4 separate regions of the Homo sapiens genome follow, and regions 1, 2 and 4 are each linked to region 3. The links are contacts of gene promoters, found by promoter capture Hi-C in human tissues and cell types (Jung and others, 2019). All regions are on one chromosome and are shown on one strand. The core of a region is centred on a gene start or on the middle of the fragment in contact, and the rest is flanking DNA. Distances in the headings are between cores, read along the strand shown. Region 1 overlaps PLAAT5 (phospholipase A and acyltransferase 5). Region 2 overlaps BAD (BCL2 associated agonist of cell death). Region 3 holds the start of NAA40 (N-alpha-acetyltransferase 40, NatD catalytic subunit). Region 4 overlaps ATL3 (atlastin GTPase 3).

Evidence for each region. The method cuts DNA at HindIII sites, captures the fragments that hold promoters and counts their contacts. A contact is called where the count stands out against the background at its distance.
Region 1: a fragment that was not itself captured here is called in contact with the fragment with the promoter of NAA40 in region 3 in 1 of the 25 tissues and cell types used here (hippocampus).
Region 2: a contact is called between a fragment that was not itself captured here and the fragment with the promoter of NAA40 in region 3, in 1 of the 25 tissues and cell types used here (spleen).
Region 4: a contact is called between a fragment that was not itself captured here and the fragment with the promoter of NAA40 in region 3, in 1 of the 25 tissues and cell types used here (hippocampus).

Annotation. Positions count from the first base shown.
Region 1 is chr11:63,475,496-63,480,612 of GRCh38, forward strand. The region is part of intron 3 of PLAAT5 (phospholipase A and acyltransferase 5); the gene reads right to left. Among named protein-coding and RNA genes, the nearest start is that of PLAAT5, 13 kb to the right of the region's middle. The HindIII fragment of the contact is 5,998 bases long and covers 1-5,117 here.
Region 2 is chr11:64,277,536-64,282,852 of GRCh38, forward strand. The region is part of intron 2 of BAD (BCL2 associated agonist of cell death); the gene reads right to left. It also overlaps a transcript of GPR137 not described here. Among named protein-coding and RNA genes, the nearest start is that of BAD, 4.5 kb to the right of the region's middle. RefSeq lists an enhancer at 1,074-1,575. The HindIII fragment of the contact is 6,252 bases long and covers 1-4,674 here.
Region 3 is chr11:63,937,743-63,942,983 of GRCh38, forward strand. It overlaps NAA40 (N-alpha-acetyltransferase 40, NatD catalytic subunit), which reads left to right and starts at 1,260. Exons shown (of 8, transcript NM_024771.4): 1 at 1,260-1,360. The coding sequence starts at 1,355. RefSeq lists enhancers at 263-763, 1,002-1,141 and silencers at 862-911, 1,172-1,251, 1,181-1,366. The HindIII fragment of the contact is 10,658 bases long and covers 1-5,241 here.
Region 4 is chr11:63,644,024-63,649,355 of GRCh38, forward strand. ATL3 (atlastin GTPase 3) reads right to left here. Exons shown (of 13, transcript NM_015459.5): 6 at 2,484-2,540; 7 at 146-238. The region is part of intron 2 of LNCROPM (lncRNA regulator of PLAAT3 mediated phospholipid metabolism); the gene reads left to right. Among named protein-coding and RNA genes, the nearest start is that of ATL3, 25 kb to the right of the region's middle. The HindIII fragment of the contact is 5,374 bases long and covers 1-4,716 here.

The sequences.
Region 1 (5,117 bases), core at 1,693-4,192, 460 kb before region 3:
TGTGACTTTAGATCTAAAGTGTGCCTCTTGTGGATGGCATATAACTGGATCTTGTACTATCAAGTCATATGATCTCTGCCTTTTTTTGGTGTGTTTAATTCATTCACATTTAATGTTACTATTAATAAAGTTGGATTTATGACTATAATTTTACTGTCAATCTTCTGTACATCACGTCTTTTTTGTTCCTCTGTTCCTCTTTTGCCTTCTTTTTTGTATCAAATACGTATTTTCTAATGATCATTTTAATTCCTCTGTTAACTTTTTAATAACATTTTTAATAGTTTTCTTTGTGGTTGCTCTAGGGATTACAATGTGCATCTTGACTTATTGCTATCTACTTCAGATTAATACTAACTTGATTCCTGTAAAATATGGAAACTTAAAATTAGCTCCATTCCTTCTTCCCTCCTTTATGTTATTATTGTCAGATATATTACATCCAAATATGTTATAAACCGAAGACAGTGTTACAAATATTGCTTTATACAAATTTTTGTCTTTTAAATTAGTTAAGAGAAAAAGGAAAAAGTATACTTATGGTCATTTATATTAACTACATTTTACCATTTCTGGTACTCTCCATTTCTTCCTGTTGATTAAGATACTTACTGTCTGGTGTCATTGATCTAATACAGCTTCATTTCAGTCCCTCTCCTTTGTGCTATTACTATTATATTTATTATATATTTGCATGTTATAAGACCAAGAATAGGATTTATAACTAGTTTTATTCAATTACCTTTCAAATTGGTCAGCATAAATGATAAAATATATATTTAGATTCTTCTGTATAATTACCTTTACTGGTGCTTTGTATTTCATGTGGCTTAGAATGCTATCTGGTGTGACTTTCTTTCCACCCAAAGAATTTTCTTTGCTATTTATTTTAAGGCAAGTGTGCTAGCCACAAATTCTCTCATTCTCCATTCATCTGGGACTATCTTTATTTCACCTTCATTTTTGCAAGATACATTACTGGATACAAAATTATTGGTTAACAGGTTTTTTTCTTTCAGCATTTTTAATATGTCATCCCACTGCCTTCTGGTCTCCATTGTTTCTGATGAAAAGTTGACTATTGTTTTTTATTGTGCATCTCTTGTATACAATAAGTCTTTTTTTCTCTTGCTGTTTTCAAGATTCTCTCTTTGTGTTTGGCTTTCATCTGTTTGAATGATATGTCTGGGTATTCACAGAGCTTCTTGGGTGTATAGATTAATGTTTTACATCAAATTTGGAAAGTATTCAGTTATCTTTTATATAGGTATTTTTTTCTGCCTTTTTATCATCTCTCTTTCTGGGACCCCAATTATACATTTGTTGGTTTGCTCAATGGTGTCTCCTTGGCCTCTGAGGCTCTGTTCATTTTTCTTTTTCTTTTTCCTCCTACTCTTCATACTAGGTAGTTGCTGTTGATCCATCTTTGAGTTTGCTGATTCTTTTTTCTTTTTGGTAACTCAAATTTGCTGTTAAATCACTCTAGTGAATGTTTTATTTTGGCCATTGTGTTTTTCAACCCCAGTATTTTCATTTGGTGCTTCTTTATCATTTCTACCTCCTTATTAATATTGTATATTTGATCGGTCATTGTCATTCCACTTTCCTTTAATTCTTTAAACTTGATTTTATTTACTTCTTTAAATATACTCAAAATAGCAGTTTAGAAGTATTTGCTACATGCAACATGTAGGCCCACTAGGAAACAGTCTCTACTGTTTTTGTGTGTATGGGTCCCTCTTTCCTGTTTCTTTGCAGGTCTCATAATTTGTTGTTGAAAAACTGGACGTTCTAGGTAACATACCGTAGCAACTGTGGGCTCTGATCTCCTTCCCCACCCAACCAGGGCGGACGGTTGTTGCTGTTTGCTTGTTTGTTTGTTGTTTGTTTAGTGACCCACCTGGACTGATTCTGTGATGTCTGTTTGTCTCACAGCATGTAACCACTGAGATATCTGCTTAGAGTTTTTTTCTTGTTTTTATTTTTATTTATTTTTTTGAGACAGAGTCTCGCCGTGTCGCCCAGGCTGGAGTGCAATGGTGTGATCTCGGCCCACTGCAACCTCCGCCTTCCAGGTTCAAACGATTCTCCTGCCTCAGCCTCCTGAGTAGCTGAGATTACAGGTGCCTGCCACCATGCACAGCTAATTTTTGTATTTTAGTAGAGACAGGGTTTCACCATGTTGGCGAGGCTGGTCTCGAACTCCTGACCTCATGATCCGCCCACATCAGCCTCCCAAAGTGCTGGGATTACAGGCGTGAGCCACAGTGCCCGGCTTCTTGTTTTTAAGCCTGGCTTCCTAGATCGGCATAGCTTAATGGCCAGAAGTTGAGCCACACCTTGTGCCGCGAAGGCTTTACCTTTTGTCAGTGGATCTCTGTGTGGCTTGGAGAATTCATTCAAAGTTCCAGATTTTTATGAGTCTCCAGTCTGTCCTGAATGTGAATGTGTATGCAGCCTTGTGCATACCTTCTAGACCACCAGACACATGTGGCAGCTTTTCAAGACCCTCTTTAGTTGTATCATTACCTGGATTTCCATGTTAAATTTTTGGCAGGCCTGTTGGCCTATTGCTTGTCCTAACCAGTACTGCAACCTCAAGCTAGCTGCAATTTTGGTCTTCCATGATTGTCACTGAGATAACTCTTGTTTTCAACAACCCTGGGCATGGAAGTAAAGTCAGTCACCCTCTGCTGCCACGCCATTCCCTCCCACAAGCCCCACCCACCTGGATAGAACTTCCTTACCACAACCGCAGAGCTGGAGGTGAAGGGGCAATGCTAAAACACTACAGACTTCCACTGTTCTTTCTGAGAACCAATAGACTTTCTTTTTTTTTTTTTTAGACGGAGTCTTGCTCTGTTACCCAGGCTGGAGTGCAGTGGCGCGATCTCAGCTCACTGCAACCTCCGCCTCCCTGGTTTCAAGGGATTCTCCTGCCTCAGCCACCCGAGTAGCTGGGACTACAGGCTCGCGCCACCACGCCCTGCTGATTTTTTGTATTTTTAGTAGAGACGGGGTTTTACCGTGTTAGCCAGGATGGTCTCAATCTCCTGACCTGCCCGCCTTGGCCTCCCAAAGTGCTGGGATTACAGGCGTGAGCCCACGCCCGACCACGGATGGACTTTCTTAAATTAACCCTTCTCAATCTGTTGTATGGCTTTGGTCAAATTTCCAGTCTTTAAATGACTGTCTTTGGCAATTTTGTCTGGCTTCATAATTGTTTTGGGAAAAGAGGATTTGCTGAGATCTGCACTCAGCCATTCCACAAGTCCTGCCCACTTGCAGCAATGAGTTTTTGTGGGCACAAAGCAAACAGTATACACTACAATATTTCATGGAAGGAACTGAGGCCAAGAGAGAGGAAGTGCTTTGTCTAAAGTCCCACAGCAAGTCCATGGTCGAGCTAGGACCAGAACTACTCCCTTGCCCCTGCCAACAAACCAACTCTTTCTTCTGCCTTAAAGGGAAAATGTAATGGCAGCCACATATCCACTAGAGGGCTCCCCATACCAGGCTTCTCACCCAGAAAGCAGAATGATATTGCAGGAGACTTCAAACTGGACTTCATTTTCTTTTGCCATAAGCCCAGGGAAAGCAGTAGGGATATCCCCCACCATAAATCCCGGAAGCCGGTAGTATACAGAAGAGGTTGAGTGCTACGAGTTGGGAAGACAGCATGTGAGTGATGTAGATGGATACAGAGGAGCAGAAAGCAGCCAAGAGAGTAAGTGAAGAAAGGCAAAGTGGAGGAGAGCTCTTTCTCGTCCTTTGAAGAAGACTAAAAAGGAACAATAGCAAATAGTATTTTCTTTGTGATTCAGATAGTAATAAGACTATATTGCTTTAAGCAGATGCCTCTGTCTTCATAAATGGCAAAGGATCAGAGAAACTGTTTTAAAATGTTCATAAGAAAGTCTGAAGTTTAAATATTTTGAAGCTCATTTTAAAAAATCAAGTCAGGTTCAACATTTGCATGTGCAGATGCAGGTAAACAGTTAAATTGCCTTTAATTTATAATTTAGGTATATACAGATTTTTGATTCATAGATTGTCTAATTATTTTTTCCTTTCAGACATAGGTAAATGAGAGAGGAAGAGAAGTTATTTAGCCTAATTTCTTTATATGAACATATGTGCTAAGCTGAGGCCATTTCTGCTATTATACACACATGACACAGGAGACCCCATAGGCCCATCCTCACTGTTACAGTAATCTAAGGACCATTACTATCTAAGTCCTGACACTGGTCAGGAAGAAAAACAGAAATGCCCATGGACAAAAGATGAACAAGAAGTGAAGAACAGGCGCCAGAGCTCAAATCAATCCAACTCAGGCTATTATTTCTGGCATTGATCAGGGTGAAGGAAATGGCAGTAACAGTAAGATTATGGGACAGGTTTTTCTGAGTCACTCCAGAGGGAAAGCCACTTGACACGTTATGTTACTCTTGAACTAACCCCTGATTCCATCTCACTCTACCTGACCACAGACCCCAATACCTTAGAGTCCTAACCAATGCCTTTCACCCACCATCCACCATATCTAGTGGAGGGCAGGGCTCTCAGAGTCGGCCAAGCCAGCTGGACGGTCACGTCTGTTCTTTGTAGGAACATGCGGTCCGTTCTTCACCATCCCTCCACCTTGGACATATTTCCCCACCAACCAAATAGCCAGTTACTTCCCACTCAACATGGCTAGGTCATTCCCTATGACAACAAACAAGCAATCAATCAAATCCTTGTTGTTGTTTCCTGGAAAACTGACAGCAAGAAGATAACCCAATTCATTGTGAGGCCAATCTAAGCCAGAAGAAAGCTCAGAAAACCCAAGTTCTGTTCATCAAGGATGTCGAACAAGCTTTGTGGTACAGAAAACAGAAGGCTCAGGGATTGGAGAAGGAAAGAGGAGGGAATTTTGGAATTTTAAGTATTTTCTTTTGCATTTTAATACTCTCTCATCTGCAATATTGCCACTGGATGAGGTAGTAAGGTATAAAACTAAATGGGATTCACAGAGACTTAACAGTTATCCACTCTCTTGTTAAATTTCCTCCCACTGTAAATCGATTATATTGAGTATTGATTCTCAGCCTTGGTTACAAATTGAAATCGCC
Region 2 (5,317 bases), core at 299-2,798, 340 kb after region 3:
CAATCGATCTTCCCACCTCAGCCTCCTGAGTAGCTTGGACTACAGGCATCACCATGCCCGGCTAATTTTTTAATTTAAAAAATTTTTAGAGAAGTGTCTTGCCATCTTGCCCAGGCTGGTCTCGAACTCCTGAGCTCAAGTGATCCTCCTGCCTTGGCCTCCCAGAGTGCTGGGATTACAGGTATGAAAGGCTGGCTGGCAAATGTTTGTTCACTTTCTTTTCCCTTTTCCTAAGTTAGCTGAAAATGTTTTCTATAAAGGGGGTTCAGTGGGCCACGTGGTCTCTGTGACAACCACTCACCTTTGTGGCCAGAGCTGAAAGGAAACCATAATCAATGTGTAAATGAATACACTGCACCTTGCTGTGTTCCACTAACACTTTCTTTAGGGACCTTGAAATTTGAATTTCATAGAATGTTCACGTTACAAAATATAGTTCTTTGGATTTTTGTCCATAACTTAAAAATATAGGCCCAATGTGGTGGCTCATGCCTGTAATCCCAACACTTTGGGAGGCCAAGGCAAAAGGACTGCTTGAGGCCAGGAGTTCGAGACCAGCCTGAGCAACACAGAAAGACCCTTGTCTCTACAAAAATTAAAATAAAAAAATTAGCCAGGCATGGTGGCGTGCGCCTGTAGTCCCAGCTACTTAGGAAGCTGAGGTGGGAGGATGGCTGGAGCCCAGAAATTTGAGGCTTTATAAATATATAAAGCCAAGAATGTACATAAAGGCAAGAAAATCACTTGAACCTGGGAGGTAGAGGTTGCTGCGAGGCGAGATTGCACCACTGCACTCCAGCCTGGGCGACAGAGTGAGGCTCCATCTTGGAAAAAAAAATTATATATATATATTTATATATAAATATATATATACATAAATAATAACAATGGCAGTTCTAATAATAAGAGCCGCAAACACTTAGCCCCTCCTCTGCGCCAGGCACTGTTTCCAAGCACTTTTCCTATATTAACTCATCAGGTCCTCGCCACAGCCCTGCGAGGTGGGACTAGTTCTATTCCCGTTTACAGATGAGGAAACTCAGGCAGATGGAGTTAATTAACCTGCTCAAGCTCAACCTGCTAGGAAGGGTAGAGCCACGTTTGAACCCTGCAGTCTGGCCCAGGGGCTAGCACTGGGCTGCTTCTTTCTGCCTCTCCACTGTCCACACCTGTTTCAGACACTGGGCTGTGTGGGCTGTCACAGCACAAGGTGGCTGCAGTCCCTGCCCTGGGGACACCTCAGCCATCCAGCAGGGGGGCCTGGTGGCAGGGACTATGAGGAGTGACCGAACCAAGTGTGAGTTGCTCTGCGCAGGTAGAGAGGGCAGAGGCCCCGTGGCTCTGGCGGGGCACTGGCACTTGCTGATCTTTTCTGGGAAACCACTTGCTTTTGGAGACACTGAAAACTAAATCAAAAGGTTAAGAAATCCAGCTCTGTCCTCACCTGGCAGCTGTCTTCTCCCGCAGCCCTCTTTCCTACGGGTCTGCAGCTGGGGCTGGGGGGAGGTGTCGTCCCTGGCCTGTGCAGAATGTTACTCCTGTCCTCTGCCACTCCACCAGCACCCTGTCTCCTTTCTGTACCTTGCTACTCCTTCTACCATGATCTTGTCCCACTCTCCCCTCAGACTCATTCCCAGGGACATAACCTAGGCCTTGTCACCATCAAATAACTCCATCCCAAGCTTCCCACCAGCTGACCCAACCTGTGTGGATCATGCCCCCGGGACCCCAACTCCAACGATGCTGCGGCTTCCCAGGGCTTGCTCCCTTCCCTGAAGCTCAGCCAGCTTGGACCCCACATCTACCATTCCTTCCTTTGCACACACCTGAAGCCCCTACCCCTAACTGGACTGAGACAAGCACAACTCTGGTTCAGACTCCAAGTCCCTGCCAGCTCCCACTAGCACCCTGCTAAAAATCCCACCAGATGCTTAAAAGCCACCTCTAGCGGCCAGACGCGGTGGCTCATGCCTGTAATCCCAGCATTTTGGGAGGCTGAGGCGGGTGGATCACGAGGTCAGGAATTCGAGACCAGCCTGGCCAACATGGTGAAACCCCCGTCTCCACTAAAAACACAAAAATTAGCTGGGCATGGTGCATGCCTGTAATCCCAGCTACTGGGGAGGCTCAGGCAGGAGAATGGCATGAACCCAGGAGGTGGAAGTTGCAGTGAGCCGAGATCGTGCCACTGCACTCCAGCCTGGGTGACAGAGTAAGACTCTATCTCAAAAAAAAAAAAAAAAAAAAAATCCCCCTCTATCCCACCCTCTAGGGTAGCCTCCAGATCCTCCCTCACCCTTCAGTGTTTCTTCTCCATTAAAAGCAACTTCATCCTACCGGGTGCTCAAGCCAGATTCCTTGGTGTTGGCTGGGCACTGTGGCTCATGCCTGTAATCCCAGCACTTTGTGAGGCCAAGGTGGGAGGATCACTTGGGGCCAGGAGCTCAAGACCAGCCTGGCCAACATAGCAAGACCTTGTCTCTAAAATTAATAATAATTTGGCCAGGCGCGGTGGCTCACGCCTGTAATCCCAGCACTTTGGGAGGCCAAGGCGGGCGGATCACAAGGTCAGGAGATCGAGACCATCCTGGCTAACATGGTGAAACCCCATCTCTACTAAAAACACACAAAAAAATTAGCTGGGCATGGTGGCGGGAGGCTGTAGTCCGAGCTACTCTGGAGGCTGAGGCAGGAGAATGGCGTGAACCCGGGAGGCAGAGCTTGCAGTGAGCTGAGATGGTGCCACTGCACTCCAGCCTGGGCGACAGAGCAAGACTCCATGTCAAAAATAAAATAAAATAATAATAATAATAATAATAATAATTTTTTTTTTTGAGACGGAGTCTTGCTCTGTCGCCCAGGCTGGAGTGCAGTGGCACCATCTCGGCTCACTGCAAGCTCTGCCTCCCGGGTTCATGCCATTCTCCTGCCTCAGCCTCCCGAGTAGCTGGGACTATAGGCACCCACCACCACGCCCGGCTAATTTTTTGTATTTTTAGTAGAGACGGGGTTTCACCGTGTTAGCCAGGATGGTCTTGATCTCCTGACCTCGTGATCCGCCCGCCTCGGCCTCCCAAAGTGCTGGGATTACAGGCGTGAGCCACCGCGCCTGGCCTAATTTATTTTATTTTTATTTATTTTTTGTTTTTTGAGACGGACTCTTGCTCTGTCACCCAGGCTGGAGTGCAGTGGCAGGATTTCAGCTCACTGCGACCTCCACCTCCTGGGTTCAAGTGATTCTCCTGCCTCAGCCTCTCAGGTAGCTGGGATTACAGGCGCCCACCACCACATCCAGCTAATTTGTGTATTTGTAGTAGAGACAGGATTTCACCAAGTTGGCCAGGCTGTTCTTGAACTCCTGACCTCAAGTGATCTGCCTGCCTCAGCCTCCCGATGTGCTGGGATTACAGGTGTGAGCCACCACGCCCGGCCAATAATAATTTTTTTTTTGAGACGGAATCTTGCTCTGTCACCCAGGCTGGAGTGCAGTGGTGCAATCTCTGCTCACTGCAAGCTCCGCCTCCCGGGCTCACGCCATTCTCCTGCCTCAGCCTCCAGAGTAGCTGGGACTACAGGCGCCCACCACCACGCCCAGAGAATTTTTTGTATTTTTAGTGGAGACGGGGTTCACCGTGTTAGCCAGAATGGTCTCTATCTCCTGACCTCATGATCTGCCCACCTCGAACTACCAAAGTGCTGGGATTATAGGCGTGAGCCACCGCGCCCAGCCTAATAGTTTTTTTAAAATTCCTTGGCATCATCCTGACTCCTCTCTTTCCCTCGCACCCCACATCCAGTCCATCAGCAGATCCTGCCAGTTCTGCTTTAAAAATAAATCCAGGGATCAGCTACTTCTCACCACCTCCCTGGTGACTCTCTGAATGTCTAAATCTGACCATGCTGCCTCTGCTCAAATCCTTTCCAGGTTTTTACTCAAAGGCAATGCCAGAGTCCTTAGAATGACCTTCAACTTTAGGTCTCCAAATACCCTTTCCTAAACCCCCTCCCCTAGGCCCACCCTAGCCAGGAGCAGGTGTTGCCCTCGAGGCCTTACCATCTGCCCTTCTCTCTGCCTGGAACTCTCTTCCCATCATCCCTGTGGCCTTGGCTCCAGTGGTGCTTCTCACCAAGGTGAGTGCTGACCACCTCTGCTACCATCACTCCCCCCGCCCCTGTGACTCCGGATTCTCTTAACTCTTTTTTTTGAGATGAGTCTCACTCTGTCGCCAGGCTGGAGTGCAGTGGCACGATCTTGGCTCACTGCAACCTCCGCCTCCCGGGTTCAAGCGATTCTCCTGCCTCAGCCTCCCGAGTAGCTGGGACTATAGGTGCGCGCCACCATGCCCAGCTAATTTTTGTATTTTTGGTAGAGATGGGGTTTCACCATGTTGGCCAGGATGGTCTCCATCTCTTCACCTTGTGATACGCCCACCTAGGCCTCCCAAAGTGTTGGAATTACAGGCGTGAGCCACCGCGCCCGGCCTCTCTTAACTCTTTTACATGCTGCCCCCATACAAATCTTCTCACGCATGATAGGATGCTTTTGTGCTTGTTTGCTCATGGCCCCACCAGCTCACTAGAAGGTAAGCTCCACAAGGGCAAGGATTCCTGACGCTTGGGTTCACCGAGGCCCCCTAGCAACTGGAACAGCCTGTGTCACACGGTGAGCACTCACTGTGTGGCGCGAGTGAATGCTGAGTGTGTGTGGGGGGCAGAGAGCAGGGGAAGTTTGTGAGCAGAAAAATGGCCAAGTGCAAGCTCAGGAAGTTAAAGAAAGCTGTGGAGGCTGAGCATGGTGGCTCACGCCAGTAATCTCAACAGTCTGGGAGGCCAAGGTGAGAGGATTGCTTGGGCCCAGGAATTCGAGACAAGACTGGGCAACAAAGCAAGACCCCACCTCTACAAAAAATAAAAAATGAGCTGGTGTGGTGGCATGCACCTGTGGTCCCAGCTGTTCTGGAGGCTGAGGCAGGAGGATCGTTTGAGCCCAGGAGTTTGAGGCCTGCCTGGGCAACAAAAGGAGACCCCGCCCCTGCCCTCATCTCATGAAAATGTGAAAAATGCTGGGCATGGTGGCTCACGCCTGTAATCCCAACACTGTTGGGAGGCTGAGGCGGGTGGATTACGAGGTCAGGAAATGGAGACCACCCTGGCTAACACGGTGAAACCCCATCTCTAATAAAAATACAAGAAATTAGCCCGGCATGGTGACACGCGCCTGTAGTCCCAGCTACTCTGGAGGCTGAGGCAGGAGAACTGCTTGAACCCAGGAGGCAGAGGTTGCAGTGAGCCGAGATTGCACCACTGCACCCCAGCC
Region 3 (5,241 bases), core at 10-2,509:
ACTTTGGGAGGCCAAAGTGGGAGGATCGCTTGGGCCCAGGAGTTTGGGACCAGTCTGTGTAACACAGTGAGACCCCATCTCAACAAAAAATAAATAAAAATTGAGCTGCGTATGGTAGTGCACACCTGTAGTCCCAGCTACTCAGGAGGCTGAGGCGGGAGGATCGCTTGAGCCCAGGAGGTCGAGGCTGCAGTGAGCTGTGATTGCACCACTGCACTCCAGCCTGGGCGACCGCGAGACCCTGTCTCTTAAAAAAACAAAAAGATGGAATAATGAGCAAAACCTGAAAAAGTCCATGAAGCTTAAGTGTTGGGCAGCATTTCACTAATTTTCGTCTTGAAGCATTTCACTAATTTTCGCTCCCTACCTGGGGAGCACTAGGAAGTGAAGACTCTGGCTCCACCCCTGGAGATTCTGGGGGAGGTTGGCAGAGGTGTGCACACTGCGGAAGCGCCCCCGGCGGTTTGGATTCGGGTCACGTGCGGGTCACTCCGGTGTGCTGGGGATGGGTTGAAATTAAAACTTTCCGGGATGCCTGGTGTTCACGCTAACAGCACTGTCCACTCTCTCCTAAACAGTGCTTACGTGCCCGTCTCCCCTCTAAACCCTGAGGTGTGGCGCTGAGATGGCACCTCGCTCCTCTCTGTGCCCCCTGGGCTCAGCACCGCGTAGATGCGAGTTAATTTTTATTGAGAACGTGAATGAATGAGGGGGAATGAATGGTTAGAAGACGAATGAATGAGTAACAGGACTCTGGTTAGAAAAGGAATTTCAAGAGTCAAGATCTGGAAGGTGGGAAAGTTTCCAAAGACTTCCGCTACGCGCGCTAGGGCTCTGGAGGGGCAGGTACTTTAGAGGTCGAGACGCGATTGGCCGCCTGGGAAGGTGGCTGTGCCGCCGGCTGCTACGCGCGGGGCCAAGGAGTCGCTGGCCGCAGGGGAGGTGCTGCCAACCACCCGGCCCCCAGCGGCGCGCGACTCACGGCCTGGGTGAGCAGCCAGGCCTGGCGCCGCCGTTGCCATAGTTACAGACGCAGCCCTGCGAGGGGGCGGGCTCTGGCCGCACGTCATTCCCGGCGCGACGCTCCTCCGCGCTCCCGCCTCCTCCTGGTCGGAGACCCTCGGCCAGCCTAGCGGGCGCTCCACCTGCGCGCCGGCTCACCGCTGCCCTGCGCCGGTTCTGCGCCGGCGCGGTACGAGGGCGCGCGGTTGGGCGGGGGGGGGGGGGGAAGCTGCGAGGCGCATGCGCGTTGCAGGGCCGTCCGCTCTGCTGCCGCCGCTGTTGCAGCCACCGCCGTTGCCGCCTCCCTGCCGGCAAGTGTGTGAAGAAGAAGCTGAGCGTTGTCGCCGCCGCTATGGGGGTGAGTGAGGCAGAGAGAGGAGATGGGAGGTCCAGGGGCGCTCCTCGCTACCCTCGCCCCCTTTGTTCTTAAACCCCCCTCTCACGTGACCCCGACCCCCTCCAGCCTCACGTGACCCCTGACCCCCACATGACCCGACTCCCCCATTCTAAGGGTCCCTACGCTAGGCCTAGCCCGGGAATCCTCTGGAGAGCCCCTGGTCCGGGGCCCCACCCCCTCGGCGCCCCCAGCGTCACGCCCGCCCCTTCCTGCTTCGCGGACCCGTTACTGGCCTCCCCACCACCGTCCCCCGCGGGGACCCTGGGGTTAGCTTCCCGCTCCCCCAGGGTCACTCATCACCTGGCTGTCACCAGCTTCGTCGCTTTTCACATCCGAGGTCAACCCTGGCTTGGAGGGAATTGAGGCCCAGAGGAAAGAAGGCGCCTAGCCAAGGTCATATTGTCGGGGGCGTCAGACCCCACCTTGGGCCTCCCGAATCCCAGTCCACTGCCCTTCCCGTTACTCGAGTCTCAGCGAAGCCGGTTCCCCTACACTCTTTCGAAACCTCTCCACCAGGTTCCTGCTGCTCCTGATAAACACAGCCTTCCTTTCCCATAGACTCCTGCCTTCGACGCCTCCTGGTTGCAATGAAATGGTTCTTACGACCGCTTGGGTTGTTAGGGGTTTTGGTAGTGCAGGTGTTTTTTGCAAGGGGAGGGCTGTGCAGGTGTGCGGGGAAGATGCGGGGAGGCGGGGGCGGCGGCCCAGCCGCGGATGGATATTGACCACTTGTTCCGTGCCGGCAGCCTGGAGGTGCATTTTAGTTTACTTTCCCGGGATATAGGGTAGGGCAGAAGTTATTTGCAAGTTTCTGTGCGTTCACCTTACTAAGTCTCAATTACAGCAGTATCAGTCACCCTCCTAAAAAGATAACGCTTTTCCTAGTATTGGCTGTATTCTTTTTTTTTTTTTTTTTTTTTTTTTTTGATATGGAGTTTTGCTCTTGTCGCCGAAGCTGGAGTGCAATGGCGCGATCTCGGCTCACTGCATCCTCCTTCTTCTGGGTTCAAGCGGTTCTCCTGCCTCAGCCTCCCCAGCAGCTGGGATTACAGGCGCCCGCTACTATGCCCGGCTCATTTTTGTATTTTTAGTAGAGACAGGGTTTCACCACGTTGGCCAGGCTGGTCTCGAACTCCTGACCTCGTGATTCACCCGCCTAGGCCTCCCAAAGTGCTGGGATTACAGGCGTGAGCCACCACACAGGCCTATATTAGTATTTACATGGAATTTCCATCACCTTAAGGGAACCCTGACTTTGGAGCCCGAGGTACCTCACTTCCAGCCCCGTCTTCGCTGCTGGTGGTATAATAGTGTGCCAGTGAGTTGGCCTTTATGTGTTTGAATTTCCTCACCTCTGTAATTGGGATGCTAATACCTCCCCCTTAGGGTAGTAGTGAAGATTAAGTGAGATAATGGATGTAGATTGCTAAGGAGGTGTCTCCTAAGTAGTGGCTGTTATTTTTGTCTGTATCCTCAGCCTTAACTTTACTGATCTAAAATGGATTTGTGCTATTTTTAACCCATTGGGTTTGTCCCTACTGTTGTTAACCTAGTTTTTTTTTTTCCCGTCACTCCACTATTTATCGACTGAACAAATCAACTTATTAGACAAAAATAGTTGTCTAATCCGTGTCAAAACAGTCATCGTGTTTTAACAAATAGTTTTGGGTATTACGTACTTCATATGTAGAAAACCAAGTCTAGAGACCTTAGGCATATTTAACCTAAATTTTGGTGAAAGGTCCTAGACACAGCCATTGTTGAAACTAAATGAAACCTGTGTCCCTTAGTAACTGTCTAACCAGAAGCAGCCACTGCGGATTAAGCAGAAAACAAGAAGTGTAACATGCCGTTCTAGTTCAACACTTCCTCGTTGGTTGGACTGAAATAGCAGGCCCTCAACACCATAAGACAGGGTGAAGGAAAAAAGAAATATGCCCCAGAGATTCTGCGATCCTTGCTTCCTTTAGGGCCTCAATCTTATACTTTACAGATGTGTTTCTCACATGAGACCCTACAAAGTCTCTTCTGGCCTAAAATTGACAGTAAGAGAGACTTGAATTCTCCTCCCTGAAACAGCTGGAACCGTCTCATCACCCTCATTCCACAACTGTGGGTGCTGGGGAAGTCATCATTCCTTGTAGTTACCCTGTGGCAGAGCCTGGCCTCAGGCTGAGTGAGGCTTCAGATGGAGCGCTTTCTCTTCAGTTGCCACACACGTGTCCTAGTTGCCACATTTGTGTCATCTTTCAGGAGTTAGAATTTATATTTCTCTTGCTTCACCAAAAACAGATTCTTTTTGGATATTGGATAGTATATGGGGTAGAGACATTGATACTGAAAATCTAAGAGATGCCAAATTCTTTTTCTGAAAAGTGGCTCCTCCTCCCATCTGGATGTTTCTTTTCTTTTCTTTTCCTTTTTTTTTTAGACAGAGTTGTGCTCTTTTTGCCCAGGCTGGAGTGCAGTGGCACAATCTCAGCTCACTGCAATCTCTGCCTCCCAGGCTCAAGTGATTCTCCTGCCTCAGCCTCCCGAGTAGCTGGAATTACAGGTATTAACCATCATGCCTGGCTACTTTTTTCTGTTTTTAGTAGAGACGGGGTTTCACCATGTTGGCTAGGCTGGTCTTGAACTCCTGACCTCAGGTAATCCACCCACCTCCGCCTCCCAAAGTGCTGGGGTTATAGGCATGAGCCACCGCGCCCAGCCTGGGTGTGTTTTTTTTAATTTGTCTTTATGACCCCTTCCAGTCGTAGAACTGTGTGTGGAGTTACTTTTTCAATGGGAATAGTAAGGGGAAGAGTTTTACACTGCACATGGAAACATTTATGTAACACTTTATAACAAAAAATGCCATATACATGTGATTGTGACATGGTGGAAGGAGCATGACTTTAGGGTTCAAACGTGGATTTGGATCTTGGATGATTCATTCAGCAGATGTGAACTGAGTATCTGCTGTTTGGTGAGCACTGGGTGAACATAGCCAGATAAAGCGGATCTACCCTCACCTCATGGGGAGAGTTGGAGGGAGTGGGAGGAAGAGACCGCTTTGAGAACTCTCCTCACCGCCTCTGTGACCCTGCAAGTTCCTTAACTCTCTGTGCCTCAGGTTTCTCATCAAAGAAGTAGTCACACCTACCATGCTGGGTTGTGAAAAGTAAAATAGATCACCTTTATTAAAGCACCGGCAGAAGATCTGAGGGAGGTCTTTGTAAACAGAAGTCCCCTCCTGCGACTGTTGGTGTAGACATTGCGAGCCCCATTTTATGGAGAAGAAAACTGAGAGAGAAATTTTGAGCAACTTGCTGAAAAGAGCTTAAGTAACTTGCCTGAAGTCACGCAGCTAGTAAGTGAAAGAGCTGAGAATCAAATCCAGGTCTTTTGATTCAAAATCCCGCACTCTCTTTTTTTGTACAAAGCTCCCTTGGAAAAGACACTTAACCACAGTGAGCTTTACTGTTCACTGTGCTTATTATCCATTTTAATTAGGAGCATTTTCCTGTGTCCCTGTAGGACAGCCTTACTTCCACAAGGCAGGGGCAAAGCTAATTGGAACAGTAGGAGACCACTTTTCCTAGTGCGGCCCCTCCCTGCCTGTCTGGCCCAGCTGGCTGCACCCTGCCTTCTGCCCCATGGGCAGGCAGCGGAGCTCGTAAGGGGTTCTTGAGTTATTGCGGTCTCAGGCCATGGCAGCTCCAGGCCTTGCTCTGAGGATTGCCAGGTCTACATGAATGAGCCCACAAATCTACTAGAGGCCCGGCTGGCCCTCCTGCTGCTTGTTCTTGGGAATTACTGCTCATGCTTAGAAGTGAGATGGAGGGAACCCAGGCTTCAGT
Region 4 (5,332 bases), core at 780-3,279, 290 kb before region 3:
AAATATTAGCTTGTGTTAAGATTCATATATAGTTAATGTATTCAATATCATTTTCAATAATTGCTTTAAACACAATAGCCAAAAGCAAATGAGAAAGCTATCACTACTTTGAGATAATTCATCAGAAGATTATAGTCCCACTTACCTGTAAACGCTTATCCAAAAATGCCATTCCTCCTTGGAGTCCATAGCTATATTCATAAGGGAAACTCCAATCTCTAACCAAAAACATCAGTGTCTATTTAAGAAAAGAGCGGAACATATTTTAACATGCATAAACACATTTTCAAGAGAACAACTGCAATACATCTTTGCATAATGCCAGCTTCTACAAAGGGGGTAAAGTAGAAGGATTTACCTTTTTTTTTTTTTTTTTTTTTTAAAGAGATTGGGCCTTGCTCCGTCACTAAGGCTAGAGTGCAGTGGCATGATCATAGCTCACTGTAGCCTAGAATTCCTGGGCTCAAGTGATCCTTTCACCTCAGCCTCCCAAGTAGCCGGGACTACAAGCACATGCCACTACTCCTGGCTTATTTTTTAATTTTTTTATATAGACAAGGTCTTGCTCTGTTGCCCAGGCTGGTCTTGAACTCTAGGCCTCAAGCAATCCTGTGGCCTTGGCCTCCCAAAGTGCTGGGATTACAGGTGTGAGCCACCACACCCGGCCAGATTTATCTATTCTGTAATGTCTTAGAAGTTTTACAAACACTGGAGGGACATGTTTAAGCCAAATATGAGGTCAATATATCCTATCTGCTATTTTTGTTCCCACAGGTTAGTAGGAACAGAAGGAAGACATTAATGAGAAAATGGTAAATTTGGGACTCTGCCTTAAAGAAATCTATGGGGAATACAGTAAAGGACAAAAGAGAAAACCACATGGCACCAGCTAATCATAAAATCAGATCTGTGGCCGGGCACAGTGGCTCACGCCTGTATCCCAGCTACTTGGGAGGCTGAGGCAGGAGAATCACTTGAACCCAGGAGGAGGAGGTTGCAGTGAGGCGAGATCACGCCACTGCACTCCAGCCTGGGTGACAGAGCGAGACTCTGTCTCCAAAAAAGAAAAAAATCAGGTCTGTTTTCAGCATTAGAAAGGAAGGCCAGCCACCGTGGCTCATGCCTATAATCCCTTTACTCTGGGAGGCCGAAGCAGGTGGGTCACCTGAGCTCAGGAGTTTGAGACCAGCCGGTCAACATGATGAAACCCCATCTCTACAAAAAATACAAAAAATTAGCCGGGCGCCTGAAATCCCAGCTACTCAGGAGGGTGAGGAAGGAGAATTGCTTGAACCTGGGAGGCAGAGGTTGCAGTGAGCCAAGATCATGCTACTGCACTCCAGCCTGGGCAAAATTTTAGAAAGAAACTCCATCTCAAAAAAAAAAAATAAATTAGAAAAGAAAAGAAATAAGGCTTACACACTGAAAGCACCTCTAATCCCATTGACTGAGGCTGCTGTGCTTCCTCATTCTCAAGAAACACTGAACTGAGGCATAGGTCAGCAAAGACTTTTTGCAGAGAGAGAGAGAGAGAGAGAGACAGAGAGAGACAGAGAGTGAGTGAGTGTGTATGTGTGTGTTTGTGTTGAGACGGTCTTGCTTTGTTACCCAGGCTGGAGTGCAGTGGCACAATCATGGCTCACTGCAGCCTTGACCTCCTAGGCTTAAGTGATCCTCCTACCTCAACCCCACCGAGTAGCTGGGACTACAGGCGTGCACGACCTTTTTATTTTATTTTATTTTTGTTTTTTTCTTTTTTTTTGAGACAAAGTCTTGCTCTGTCGCCCAGGCTGGAGTATAGTGGCATGACCTCGGCTCACTGTAACCTTCACCTACCAGGCTCGAGCGACTCTCCTGCCTTAGCCTCCTGAGTAGCTAAGATTACAGGCACCCACCACCACGCCCAGCTGATTTTTGTATTTTTAGTAGAGACAGGTTCCATGTTGGCCAAGCTGGTCTCGAACTCTTGACCTCAGGTGATCTGCCTGCTTTGGCCTCCCAAAGTGCTGGGATTACAGGCATGAGCCACTGTACCTACCCCCATTTTTTTAAGAGATGTCTTGCTATGTTGCCCAGGCTGGTCTCAAACTCCTGGGCTCTAGCAATTCTTCCACCTGGGTCTCCCCAAAGTGCTGGGATTACAGGTGTAAGCTACCACGCCCAACCCACAGAGCTTACTTTTTAAGCGATTACTCTGCCGTTGTAGCAGGAAAGCCGTCACAGACAGTACAAAGACAAATGAGCATGGCTGTGTTACACTAAAATTTTACCTACAGACAATGACACTTGAATTTCAGGTAATTTACGTGTCATAAAATAGTACTGCTCATTTTTTTCAACCATTTAAAAATGTAAAAACCATTCTTAGCTCACAAGTCATATAAAAACAGGTGGCAAGCTAGATTTGGCCTATGAGCTGTAGTTTGCCAATCTGTGAAAACAAAAACAAAGGTATGAATTATATTTAAAATAAATATTCTAACCTGGAAAGGCTTTTGGAAAATTTCATCCATTGCCAGACGACCGTATTCTGTGAAGAGCTTTAAAAAAGAAGCATTATGGTTTGTAAAGCAAAATTACTTAAAATAGTTCTATGGCCTTTTTAGCAAAGTATTCATTATATTTATACTGATACCAGACTTCTACAGTTTCAAAAGCCCACAGGAGTCATGAACCTTAAAATCATCTTGGTTATTCCCTGCTCACATCCCACATCCCAATTCATCAACAAATCCAGAATCCAGCCACTCACTATTTCCATGTGGCTTGGAATACTGCAATAGCCTCCTAACTGCCTCAGCCCATGCCTCCCTATGGGCTATTCTCAACACAGCAGCCACATTGACTCTTTTATAATATGGTTAGTTAGATCATATAATGGCTTTGCTCAAAACCCCACAACCTCATTCAGTATTAAAGCCAGTCCTTACAGTGTGATGCAGCCACACTGGCCCTCCTTCCTGTTCTTCAAATACACGGGGCACACCGCTGCCTTAGGACCTTCGTACTGGCTCCTCCCACTAACTATAAGTTCTTCTCCCAAATTTCCTCATGATCTGCTCCCTCACTTCTTAAGGTCTTTCAAATAGCTCCTTCTCAGTGAAGACTTCCATGGCCATCTACCGAAAAAGATTACAAGTTTGCCAATAATATTTCCTACTTCGTGTCTTTAAAAAAAAATTTTTTTTTTTGAGACAGAGTTGTGCTCTTGTTGCCCAGGCTGGAGCGTAATGGCGCGTGGCTCATCGCAACCTCCGCCTCCCGGGTTCAAGCGATTCTCCTGCCTCAGCCTCCCAGGTAGCTGGGATTACAGGCATGTGCCACCACACCTGGCTAATTTTGTATTTTTAGTAGAGACGGGGTTTCTCCATGTTGGTCAGGCTGGTCTTGAACTCCTGACCTCAGGTGATCCACCTGCCTCGGCCTTCCAAAGTGCTGGGATTACAGGCGTGAGCCACCACACCCAGTCTTAAAAGTTTTTTTCTTAACATTTATCATTATCTAATATACTATACCTCTTCTTGATTTGATTTGCATCTGTCTTTATACTAGCATTTAAACTCCATGAGGGCAGGAATATTTGTCTGTTTTGTGCACTACTGGATTTCCAGCAGCAAGAAAAGTATTAGGCCCATAATATTTATGTCATTCAAATGACTGAATTCTTTAAGGTTAAGGTTTACATGTATATTTACCTCTAAATCTTCAGGAAGCCTCACTAAAAGCATAACAAAACAAACTTTAAAAGTAAATAAATAAACAGGACAAAGCAGCCAGCAGAAAAGCCCTGTCAAAAACATTCTGGATGGAAAATAGACAAATGAGAACTGTCTCAAGTTTTGGCTTTCTCTGTTCTGCTAAGAAATCTGGAAGAGACAGGGGCCAACAAGGAAGAAGCAAATTATCTCAGTAGAAATCCCTGAAATGCTCAGAAATTATAAGCATACAGTTACCTTACAGGAGGAGGTGTAGGAGTCCAGCTGACAACTAGGAAATATGTGAGTCTTAGGAGAAAGTACCTACACTTCCAGGCACCCCTCTCTAACTGCCGTATTTTTCCTGCCTCCATAGAAGATGGGAAGTGTACTATCTGGAGAAGATAAATCCAAAAAAAAATCTAGACTTAGATACCAAACTCAGCTGAGGTTAGGAGTAAGTCTCCTACCTTCAAACAGGTACTTAAATCAAAGTCCACATAGTGAGCAGTGGGACTCCTTAGCCCTCTCACCCTACTGGTTGCCACAGCAAGCTTCTACCCACCAAGGCAGGAATTTAAAGAAATTTTTTCCAGGGAAACTAACAACCCAAGAATAAATATCTGCAAAAAAAATAGACATTTAGGAGTTGGCAACAAAATAGCTAGATAACCTTGCCAAACCACCTACCTCATTGTGATCCAAACCAGTACACAAGGCCTATCCTCTTATCAAAGCTCCCAGTTGGATTGTTAGTGGCTCTCTCTTAAATAGGTAGTCAAGGACCACCAGCTAGACATTTGAGAAAAGCCTCTTAGCAGGGCTGGCCGCTCTAATCCCAGCACTTTGGGAGGCCAAGGCAGGGAGATCACTTGAGGTCAGGAGTTCGAGACCAGCCTGGCCAACATGGCGAAACCCTGTCTCTACTAAAAATACAAAAATTAGCTGGGCATGGTGGCACATGCCTGTAATCCCAGCTTCTCAGGAGGCTGAGGCAGGAGAATTGCTTGAGTCCGGGAGGTGGAGGTTGCAGTGAGCCGAGATCGCACCACTGCACTCCAGCCTAGGCAGCAGAGTGAGACTCTGTCTCTAAAAAAAAAAAGCAAAAAAACAAAAAGGCCAGGCACGGCGGCTCACATCTGTAATCCTGGCACTTTAGGAGGCTGAGGCAGGCAGATCATTTCAGGTTAGGAATTTGAGGTCACTCTGACCAACATAGTGAAACCCTGTCTCTACTAAAAGTACAAAAAAAATTAGCCGGGTGTGGTGGCACGCACCTGCAGTCCCAGCTACTCAGGAGGCTAAGGCAGCAGAATCACTTGAACTTGGGAGGCGGAGATTGCAGTGAGTGAGCCAAGATCGTGCCACTGCACTCCAGCCTGGGCAACTGAGGGAGACTCCATCTCAAAAAAAATAAAAAAAGTACTAAAAATCCAGGTTAGGGGGGAAACTTATTTGGAAACAAAACCTGCCTTCAACTGACATGAAGCTTTTTATAGGCTTATTTACCCCATTTTATTGGTTATATATTTCACTGAAGAAATATTAATGTGTTTAATCAGAAGGCTCTGCATGAACATCAACACCCAGCTAATTTTTGTATTTTTAGTAGAGACGGGGTTTCACCATGTTTGCCA